2 separate regions of the Homo sapiens genome follow, and region 2 is linked to region 1. Evidence: promoter capture Hi-C in 16 types of primary human blood cells and fetal thymus (Javierre and others, 2016). All regions are on one chromosome and are shown on one strand. Each heading gives the region's core, a stretch centred on a gene start or on the middle of the fragment in contact. The rest is flanking DNA. Distances are from core to core; before and after follow the strand shown. Region 1 holds the start of OR5T2 (olfactory receptor family 5 subfamily T member 2). Region 2 holds the start of OR5T1 (olfactory receptor family 5 subfamily T member 1).

What was found. Contacts are between HindIII fragments. The CHiCAGO score rates a contact against its expected background, and 5 or more counts as called.
Region 2: a contact is called between the fragment with the promoter of OR5T1 here and the fragment with the promoter of OR5T2 in region 1, in 13 of 17 cell types (neutrophils, monocytes, naive CD8 T cells and 10 more). The highest score is 13.7, in neutrophils.

Annotation. Positions count from the first base shown.
Region 1 is chr11:56,231,795-56,237,173 of GRCh38, forward strand. OR5T2 (olfactory receptor family 5 subfamily T member 2) reads right to left here and starts at 2,461. Exons shown (of 2, transcript NM_001004746.4): 1 at 2,383-2,461; 2 at 1-1,470. The coding sequence starts at 1,268. The coding sequence ends at 312. The HindIII fragment of the contact is 5,726 bases long and covers 7-5,379 here.
Region 2 is chr11:56,271,116-56,276,494 of GRCh38, forward strand. It overlaps OR5T1 (olfactory receptor family 5 subfamily T member 1), which reads left to right and starts at 3,039. Exons shown (of 3, transcript NM_001004745.2): 1 at 3,039-3,057; 2 at 3,521-3,638; 3 at 4,371-5,379. The coding sequence starts at 4,524. The HindIII fragment of the contact is 3,205 bases long and covers 1,353-4,557 here.

The sequences.
Region 1 (5,379 bases), core at 1,211-3,710:
TATGGAAGCTTCAAGGCATCAGCATTCCCTCCCCGAAGGTATAGGGTGGGACTCTCTCATGGGAGAGTCTTAAGATTCACAATCAGTAAGGCAGACATTGGAACCCAGCCTTGGTGCAAGTGAAAGGAGGGCAGGAGAAGGTAAAAGGCCTGCCCCTGAGGTATAACACCCAACATTATAACAAAAGACTGTAACAAAGGCTATGGGAATTATGAGCCAGGAACCCTGGATGGAAACCAACATATATCATAACACCACAATGACACATTCTTGGTATTGAGGTGCAGAGTATCACCCTCACCTTTTATAATTTATTTTTTAGTATGAAAATATACTTTATTGATAACCTGATTTTTCCCAAACATTTTTTTCATTGAGTCTTTTACATCTTTGTTCCTCAAACTGTAGATGACGGGATTCAGCAAGGGAATCACAATGGTGTAAAATATTGACACTATCATGTCATGGTCCGAAGCATAGCTGGAACTTGGTCTCACATACATGAAGAGGATTGTCCCATAATAAATTGACACTCCAGTTAGGTGAGCTCCACATGTGGAGAAGACTTTTCTCCTCCCTTCAGCAGAATACATCTTCAGAATGGCCAACAGAATCAAACCATAGGAGATCAGAACAATCAGGATAGTGACCAGCTCGATAGAGCCCACAAAGTAGAAGAGTAGAAGCTGGTTTGTGTGAGTGTCAGAATAAGAAATAGCAAGGAGAGGAGGGATATCACAAAAGACACGCCTAATTTCATTGGCTCCACAGAAGGATAGGCTAAATGTAGCCACTGTATGTATAGTAGCATGTAAAATGCCAGCAACATAGGAAGCATTGATGAGTGGCATGTAGACTCTGGGTGACATGCTCACTGAATACAGGAGAGGGTTGTAGATGGCTACATAGCGATCATAAGCCATTGCAGCCAAGAGAAAGCATTCTGTGGTTCCAAAACTACAAGCAAGAAACACCTGTGCTACACATCCAAGGAATGAAATGACTTTATTCTTTGTCGTAAAATCTACTAACATATTTGGGGTAATAACTGAGGAATAGCAGGCATCCACAGAAGACAACATACTCAGAAAATAGTACATGGGTTTGTGGAGCTGGGAATCCCTAATGACCACTAAAATCAGTCCTAAATTTCCCATGAGAGTGAAGAGGTAGATTGCTAGAAACAGGAAGAAGAAGATAGTCTGCAGTTCAAGATTGTCTGTGAAGCCCTTCAGTACAAATAAGGTAACTTCAGTGACATTCTTCATGTTGAAATCTAGAACAAACTTGAAGATATGCATAAAGTTACAGTTCATATTATGACAAAAAGAATGAACAACACCATGACTCAAGGGGATGTTAACTGTGCTCTTGTATATACTGTACGACATATATTCAGCAGTGCATAATTCTCTAGTAGTGAATCAGAAGACAGTGACAAACTGGTCAGCCATGTGTTCATGCCACTCACTGCAGAATCAAATGGAAGAAATGGACGTTCATTAGTTGGCTGGACTTATTCTGTTTCTAAAATCATCAGGTCTACTGGTTAATTTACCACTGAATTGTATTAAGCTGTTTATATATTAAATAATATTAAAACACACAAAAATGAGTGGCTTAAACAATCTTTGGGCATCCAAATACACAAGAGACTGTATCAGGGGACAGAGCATTGGAATACAATACCAGAATTTTAGAACTTGTAGCAATTGTGCAAAATGATTTGCTATATCTACTTGTCTATAGAATGAGAACATTAATAGTTTGTTCACAAGATTGGAGTAAATATTGAAGGAAAATTGCATTAATAAAATATAATATGTAAAATAATTTTGATTATAGAATATGCTGAATTAAGTTGGTTCTACATTCTATCAAGATTAAATCCAATGAACAGTTATGATTTTTTTCATCTGCTCATTCAAATGTCTCTGAATTATTCTTTGGAGAATGAAGAAGTTTTGTGAATTACTTGATCATTTTATGCCAAAAATAAACATGCAAATTACCATGATTCCATTTTCTACATTACAATTGTCTTAATTTTGCTTTGTGCAAATAAGATACTTCAACCAAATTTCTTGTGAGACAGGCATTTCTACTAGATGCCAAAATAAGTTATATTGGGTAAAAATTAAGTTAATATTAGCACATAGTCAAAGATTCAGAGTTATAAAGAGAAAATCACTATGATTCTTGAAGATTTAATAATATAGAATCAACTTTTTAAATTAATGCAAATCTATTTTTATGAAACAAATTTTAATGGAAGGGAGAAAACTTTAAATATCGTGAATGTAATAACGAAACACTAAGTTTGCTAAATAACAGGCATTTATTTAGCACTTGCTGCAAGAACAGACATTTCTTGTACATTACCTTATTTCACCTTTATAGCAACTTTCATAGCTAACAATTTCCAGAGCCAAGATTCAATCCCAGGTTTCTCTCATTGTACATGAAATTTTTGCATTTTTTCATGGCCTCATAAATGGCTTCATTCTGCAACTGGAACACTCTTCCTCTTACCCCTCTGCTGACCTCAGGGAAATAAAGGTAAAGCAAAACATGATTCTCGATGTATTTGTATTTTTTAAGCCATTAAATCTAGAGAAACATAAAATAAGTAGCAATCTGAAGTGACTTCTAGATTATAAAGCCAGAAAATAAATTTAAAATAAGTATTGATTGTTTTCCTTATTACTTCAAAATACAAGACCCCAGATAAATGAATAAGTCAAATGTTTTTTTGCCCTTTGTTGATATTTATTGGTAAATTCATGACCTTTGAACTATCTTTATCTATAAGAAAAATACAAGCATATACTCTATTAGGAGCACTCTTATTTATCTCTATAAGTACAAATACAATATTTTCTATTTTTTATTGTTTTCTAGTAAGTGTTGGATTTTAATTCTTAGGCATAACTCTAAATAAATCATATTTTGATGAATACACTTGATTCACATATGTAATAGTCCAGAACTGAAGTGTTTAGTTCTTGGTGTTTAGCAGCTAAAAAGTTTAGTAAAAAAAAACATAGTTATTCTTGATATTGTAGGTTCTAGCTGCCGAAATATTCTTCAAATTATCTGAAATTTTCTCTTACCTGTGGAACAGCAAATGCAGATTTAGGTATTCTATGAATATGGCTAACTTAGATTGTTTATATCTTTGTAATTGACTGTTGATGAAATCCAAGGAGATGTCCCAAGGGGAATATGCCCCAATTATCTTCTGTTTCAAAATAGCACCATGATGATTTACTTAATAATAAAAAGTAAATGATTCCGGAATAAGGCACTGCATGCTCCTACTTATTGAATCAATAGAGTTCTTTGGCTTCTGTTTAAAATGTGTCAGATTTGAATTTCCCTGATGACTACTGATGTTGAACATCTTTTCATACATCTGAAGGCCATTTGTATGTCTTCTTTGGAAAAAAAATGTATTCAAGTCCTTTGCCAGTTTTAAAATAAGATTATTGTTATTGTGGCTATTGAATTTATATATTTTGATATTAATCCCCTATTAGATATATCATTTACAAATATTTTTTGTTTGGCTGATGGTTTTCTTCATTGTGCAGAAGATTTTGACTTTGACGTAGCCCTACTTGTCTAATTTTGGTTTTGTTACTTGGCTTTTTATGTCATTGCTTGTATTTTTATGTTACATCCAACAAGTTACTGCCAAGCTGAAGGTCCTAAAGTTTTTCCTTATGTTTTCTTCTAGAAATTGTAGTTTCAGGTTTTATGTTTAAATTTTTAATCCATTTTGGGTTGGTTATTTTATATGGTATAAGACAAGGGTCCAATTTAATTTCCCATTGTGTATTCTTGGCACACTTGTGAAAGATCATTTGACTATATACATGTGGGATTGTTTCCAGGCTCCCTATTCTGTTCCGTTGGTCTATATATCTGTCCTTATTCCAGTCCCATGCTATTTAATTACTGTAGTTTTGTAATATCATTGAAATAAAAAAGTATAATACCTCTAGCTTTGTTTTTCTTTCTCAAGATTCCTTTGGCTATTTGAAGTCTTTTGTAATTGCACATAATTTTTACGATGTTTTTTCTATTTCTGTAAAACCCAGCACTAGGATTTTGCAGGAAATGCATTAAATCTGAAGACCCCTTTGGGTAATATGGAGATTTTAATTATTGCAGATCAAAACCACAATGAGATATCATCACACACCTGTTATGGCCATTATTTAAAAAAAAAAAGTATTGATAAGAATGTGGAGAAATTGGAACCCTGGTGTACTGTTGACAAGAATATAAAACAGTGCAGCCATGATTGAAAATAGTATGGAAGTTCCTTGAAACATTAAAAACAGGATTACTATACAATCCTGAAATTCTGAAACCACCTTCGCAAAATTATGACAGTAAGAGAAATCTGCCATGACTGACTTCTTCTTGCTTCTATCATCACAGGCTGTCTGTCTTTGCTCATCTCTGGGCATGGACCAAATAACTTCGGGAGAAATTTAGTTTATAGTTTAAATGATAATAGTCCTTTGCAAAAACTAAACCACCTTTGTAAAACTAATCAAAGGCACCAAGTTAAGAGGATGAGAGGAGTCTGTGTTCTGCTAAGATATAGGCCTAGTAAAATGATTACCAGCCATTTTTTCCTGGAAGTCACAAGATTTGCAGCTTCCCCAATTATTCCTGCAGATAACATAGCTATTGTAGAACCTAAGATTGGCATTTTGAGATTCTTTTCAAATATTTGTATATCTGATAGCTGGATGGCCCCACCTGGACCTCTGACTCAAACAGTCATGTGGCCCCCACCCAGAAACACACTCAACACATGAGGATCATTTTCCACATCCCTATGATTCATCCTAAACTGATCAGCAACACCCATACCCTAGCCCTCTGCCCATCAAACTATCTTTGAAAAGCACCTAACTTTCAAGCCTTCAAGGAGATTGAATTGAGTAATAACTCCCTCTCCCATATGGTGTGGCAAGCCTCATCTCTTTTGCTTATTCTCATGCATTTTCATCCTCATAGCTTAGCTCCAGCTTATGAATGAGATGACATGATATTTATTTTTCCATTCTTTTCTTTACTGCAATGCCGTGGTCTCAGTAAATTGATTTTGTCTGTGGAGCAGTCAGCAAAAAATCCATTTGGCAGTTACAATTCGATATCTGGGTATTTATCCAAAATACTTGAAATCAGGATTTTGAAGATATATGTAGTCCATGTTTAATGCAGTATTATTCACAATGGCCAAAATGTGGAAGCAACCTAAATGTGCATTAATAGATTAATGGCAAACGAATAAGAGGTATATACACAGCTTTAAAAAGAGTAGACCCTGTCATATGTGTTATCATGGTAGAACCAGGA
Region 2 (5,379 bases), core at 1,789-4,288, 40 kb after region 1:
TGATTGAAACTGTGCTCAAGGTAATTAAGGATGTCACAAATGTGCAGCATATACACCCTTTCAGTAGGACAAGTAAAGACTTGTCCTTGTTTCCCTAAGGAAAACAAAACGCTGAAAAAAAAAAAAGCTAACTGAGTCAAGTAGAATCATTGGGAAGAAAAGCTTCACTAAGAAAGGAGAATTCTGGGAGATGTAGTTCTCAGAACACTTAGGGCAACATAAAATGTCTAAGGTGTGGAGAACCACTTTGAAAGGCAAGAACTGACTGTCTATAGGACTCAAGGAAGAGCAGGGAGAATTTGCTCATAAATTAGGCTTAGGTCTGAGAGCTAAAGTAGCTTTACAGTAATATTTTAAGGCCACAATGAAAGCTAGAGAGTGATTCCTTCAGCATGAACCTGGAAAAGTTACTTTGATATATCACCAACTTCCTATGTACCTTCTTCTGAGAGTCAAGATGCCCAGCACATTTAAACATGGATGGAGCAAGAAGATGGCAATTGAACTCCATATGATGAGAGTTAAAGTATACAAGGATGAAAATAACAAAATAATGTTTTAGAAGGTTGCCAGCAGCCCGTTACCATTGTCAGCAGCCTCAGCTACCTTATTCTGTCCTCTAGTCATTATCTATTCTGAAGCAATGATAAATTTATGTAATAGCTAGTTTTCTAAAGTTTTAATATAAACAGAAAAATTTACCATTTATAAGTGTCAGTTATATGAATTTTGATAAACACAAGTAGGTAAGCAAATCAAGTTATAGTATATTTTCATTACCCTATAAAGTCCTCTCATCACTTTGTAGCCAATTACTTTCCTTTACTCCCAAGTTCTGGCAACCACAGATGTGCTTTCTGTTGTGATTTTGCCTGGTCCAGGATATTATATCAATGGAATCACAATGTATGTAACTTTTTGAGTTTGGCTTTTTCAACTTAGCAAGAAGTATTTGAGATTCATTCCTGTACTAGATAATTATATTTTATACCTACTTATCACTGAGTAGTATTCCATATTATGGATGTACTACAATTGTTTTATTCATTCACTAGGTGTTGGAAATGTGTTTATTTTTCTGAGTAATGTGCCTTTGAATTTCATCCATGTCTTTTTATGACTTGATAGTTCATTTCTTTTTAGAGCTGAATAATATTTCATTATCTGGATAAACCACAGTTTATTAATACATTTATTTACTGAAGAGCATTTTAGTTGCTTGTAAGTTTTGGCAATTATAAATAAAGCTTCTGTAAACATCCATGTGCAAAACTTTGTGTGGATATTGTTTCCTTTGGGTAAGCACCAAGGAGCATGATTACTGGATTATAAGTAAATTTAGCTTTGTAAGAAGCTTCCAAACTGTCTTGCAAAGTAGTTGGACCATTTTGCATTCCCACCAGTAATGAATGAGAATTCCTGTTTTCCTGTTGCTGCACATCACCGCCAGCTTTTGCTGTTTTCTGTGTTCTGGGATTTTGGTCACTCTAGTTATGAAGAGATATATCATTGTTTTTTTTGCATTTCCTTGATGACCTATGATGTGGAGCATCAATTTCATATGGTTACATGCCATATGTATATCTTTTATGGGGTATCTTTGACTCATTTTTAAAATCATTTTTTTTTTTTTTTGAGACGGAATCTTGCTCTGTCGCCCACGCTGGCGTGCGGAGGCACAATCTCAGCTCACTACAACCTCTGCCTTTCAGGCTGGAAGCTGGAACTACAGGCGAGCCACTGCACCCGGCCTTTTTGACCATTTTAGGTGGTTTTTAAGGTCTTTGACTCATTTTTAAATCAGGTTGTTTGTGTTCCTATTGAGTTTTAAACAGTTCTTTGTAAATTTTAGATAACAGTCTTTTATCAGATGTGTCCTTGCAAGTATTTTCTCCTAGTCTGTTGTCATTTCATTCTTTTGATCATCCATGTATTTTTCATCACATTTTGGATAATTTCTTATGTGCATATCAAAGAACAAGTATATAGATTAGTATATCAATTCTTGAAGATAGAAAAGATCTCGCAGAACTTAAAAAATTGACCTTTAACTCTGCCATATATCTGAGTCTAATGTTCTAGTTCACAGAAAATTATTACATAGAACATCTGCATATTGCCCTAACTCTTCTGTTAATATTCTCTATTCATAGATTTACCTTATAATTATGTGCATTAATATCTCCTCTATTAATTTTTTTTTTTGAGATGGAATCTCACTCTTTCACCCAGGCTAGAGTGTGCAGTGGCATGGTCTCGGCTCACTGCCAACCTCTACCACCTGGGTTCAAGCAATTCTCATGCCTCAGCCTCCCCAGTAGCTGGGATTACAGGCGTCCACCACCAAGCCCGGCTAATTTTTTGTATTTTTAGTAGAGATGGGGTTTTTCCATGTTGGCCAGGCTGTTCTCGAACTCCTGACCTCAGGTGATCTGCCTGTCTCGGCCTCCCAAAGTGCTGGGATTACAGGCATGAGCCACCGCACCTGGCCTATTAAATTTTCAATGAAGTTAAATCTCTCTCATACCATTTAGAATTAGAGGACTGTCAAATTTAAATAAATATAGTAACCTTTATTAAATGATTATATGTCTTGTCATAGGTTATGTTTTCATATTATTTCATTATGTATGTGACAATAGGACTTCCAGATAATTCATAGGTTATAATTTCAAGAAGAAACTGAATTTTAGAGAATTTAAGTTATTAATTTGATAGCATGTAGATAATTAGAATCAGAGCTAGCACTATGGCCTGTATTATTAGCTTTCTTTTTCAGTAATATGCATATTTTTTTCCACTGGGGGATTATTTTGGACCTAGGTAGAAAGTACACTTATGTGATCATTGGAATCATGTAATGCATGTTCCAGATCAGTTACTTGTTCACTACAGAAAAAAAAAAAAATCATAATTTGTTTTATCCCAGAAGAGAATTAGTGTGTTTTCTTCTTTGGGCATCCCTGTGGAATTCTAGAGCTCAAGGGCCTGGTATAAGAATTCAAATGCACAATATTCATAGCATACCTGAATTGAGTGAGCAGTTCATTTCCAAAGGTAAGAGAAAAGGAATCTGATCACTTGTAAAATATTAAGAAGCTCTCACCTTGAATTTAAGACTAAAACATATTTCTTACTATTTAAATATAAGAAAGAGGGTTCTGTTTAATGTGAAGCTGTATTACAAATTGAATCACATACTTTCCAAGGATCATAGGAGAGAATACGTGTGTTGTTTTAGCAACAGTTTATAAAAATAATTGTATTACTTGTTATTGGATGGTATTTATTTTATAGAAATTTCAGAAGTTACGTAAGAATCATAGTAAAAGGATAGCCATAATTCATTTTTGATATAAATATGTCACAAAAATACACCCAAGGACTTCACAGGCATAATGACCAAATGATCATATAAATTGACACGTCTGATATTGGTTTTAAGTTAAAATCTGAAAAATAATAATGCTTAAAAAAACTGCACAGGCCAAAATGAACAAATTGGTGATATTTTTTTCAGGAAAGAAAAGTGAAACACAAAAGGAAAAATAAATGAAAAATGAACACCAAATTCTTTTGGTTTGCAAACAAGGTGCATCTATCTCCAGAATCAAATCTCTTGTATCCACCACCATTCTGTAAGTACTAATGCAACAGCAGGATAATTGCCAAAAAAAAAAAAAGGATTTGAAATGGTTTGGTCAGAAAGACTGTCTCAAATGATAAATTTTAATATAAGCCTGACATTGCATTTTCTAGTTATCTGGGCATATTTAAATATTAAATAACTTACATACTGTTTTTCCCATTTAAATACAACCCACTCTTATAATGTAGATATGATTGTTTCCATATTTAAAATGAGAAAAATAAAGTAATTCAATGGACTTTTTAGAAAACCTAGGAATAGCACTCAGTCTTTATGAGTTTTGAAACAATTTAATATTAAGAATAGATGGTAGTACATTTGATGGAAAATGAACAGGAAATTAAACTGATTAAATAGACTTTTTTTACACTTTAAGTTCTGGGGTACATGTGCAGAATGTGCAGTTTTGTTACATAGGTATACACGTGCCACGGTGGTTTGCTGCACGCATCAACCCGACACCTACCTTAGGTATTTCTCGTAACGTTATCCCTCCCCTAGCCTCCCACCCTCCGACCGGCCCTGGCGTGTGATGTTCCCCTTCCTATGTCCATGTGTTCTCATTGTTCAACTCCCACTTACGTGTGAGAACATGCGGTGTTTGGTTTTCGGTTCTTGAGATAGTTTGCTGAGAATGATGGCTTCCAGCTTCATCCATGTTAAAAAGATAAATTTAGTGCATGATTGAATAAAATAATTTATTTAATTTATTTAATTACAGTAATGTATCCACTTGGACCCAATTTTATCACCACCTGTGCATTTGCTGACAAGGATTTCATCTTGCTTTTCCAAGAAACGAACATGAGGATATAATTGGATAAACTTAATTTTCACAGGCTGTTGCATTTAGTACATATAAACAATAGCTAAAATGTCAGGGTTGCCTTCAGATATGGATCTATACAAGCTTCAATTAAACAATTTTACTGAAGTCACCATGTTTATATTAATAAGCTTCACAGAAGAATTTGATGTGCAAGTCTTCCTATTTTTATTATTTTTAGCAATCTATCTATTCACTCTAATAGGCAATTTAGGGCTGGTTGTACCGATCATTGGGGATTTCTGGCTTCACAGCCCAATGTACTATTTTCTTGGTGTTTTATCATTCTTGGATGTCTGCTATTCTACAGTTGTCACTCCAAAAATGTTGGTCAATTTCCTGGCAAAAAATAAATCTATTTCATTTCTTGGATGTGCAACACAGATGTTTCTTGCTTGTACTTTTGGAACCACAGAATGCTTTCTCTTGGCTGCAATGGCTTATGATCGCTATGTAGCCATCTACAACCCTCTCCTGTATTCAGTGAGCATGTCACCCAGAGTCTATGTGCCACTCATCACTGCTTCCTATGTTGCTAGCATTTTACATGCTACTATACATACAGTGGCTACATTTAGCCTGTCCTTCTGTGGATCCAATGAAATTAGGCATGTCTTTTGTAATATGCCTCCTCTGCTTGCTATTTCTTGTTCTGACACTCACGTAATCCAGCTTCTATTCTTCTACTTTGTGGGCTCTATTGAGATAGTCACTATCCTGATTGTCCTGATCTCCTATGGTTTTATTCTGTTGGCCATTCTGAAGATGCAGTCTGCTGAAGGGAGGAGAAAAGTCTTCTCTACATGTGGAGCTCACCTAACTGGAGTGACAATTTATCATGGGACAATCCTCTTCATGTATGTGAGACCAAGTTCCAGCTACACTTCGGACAATGACATGATAG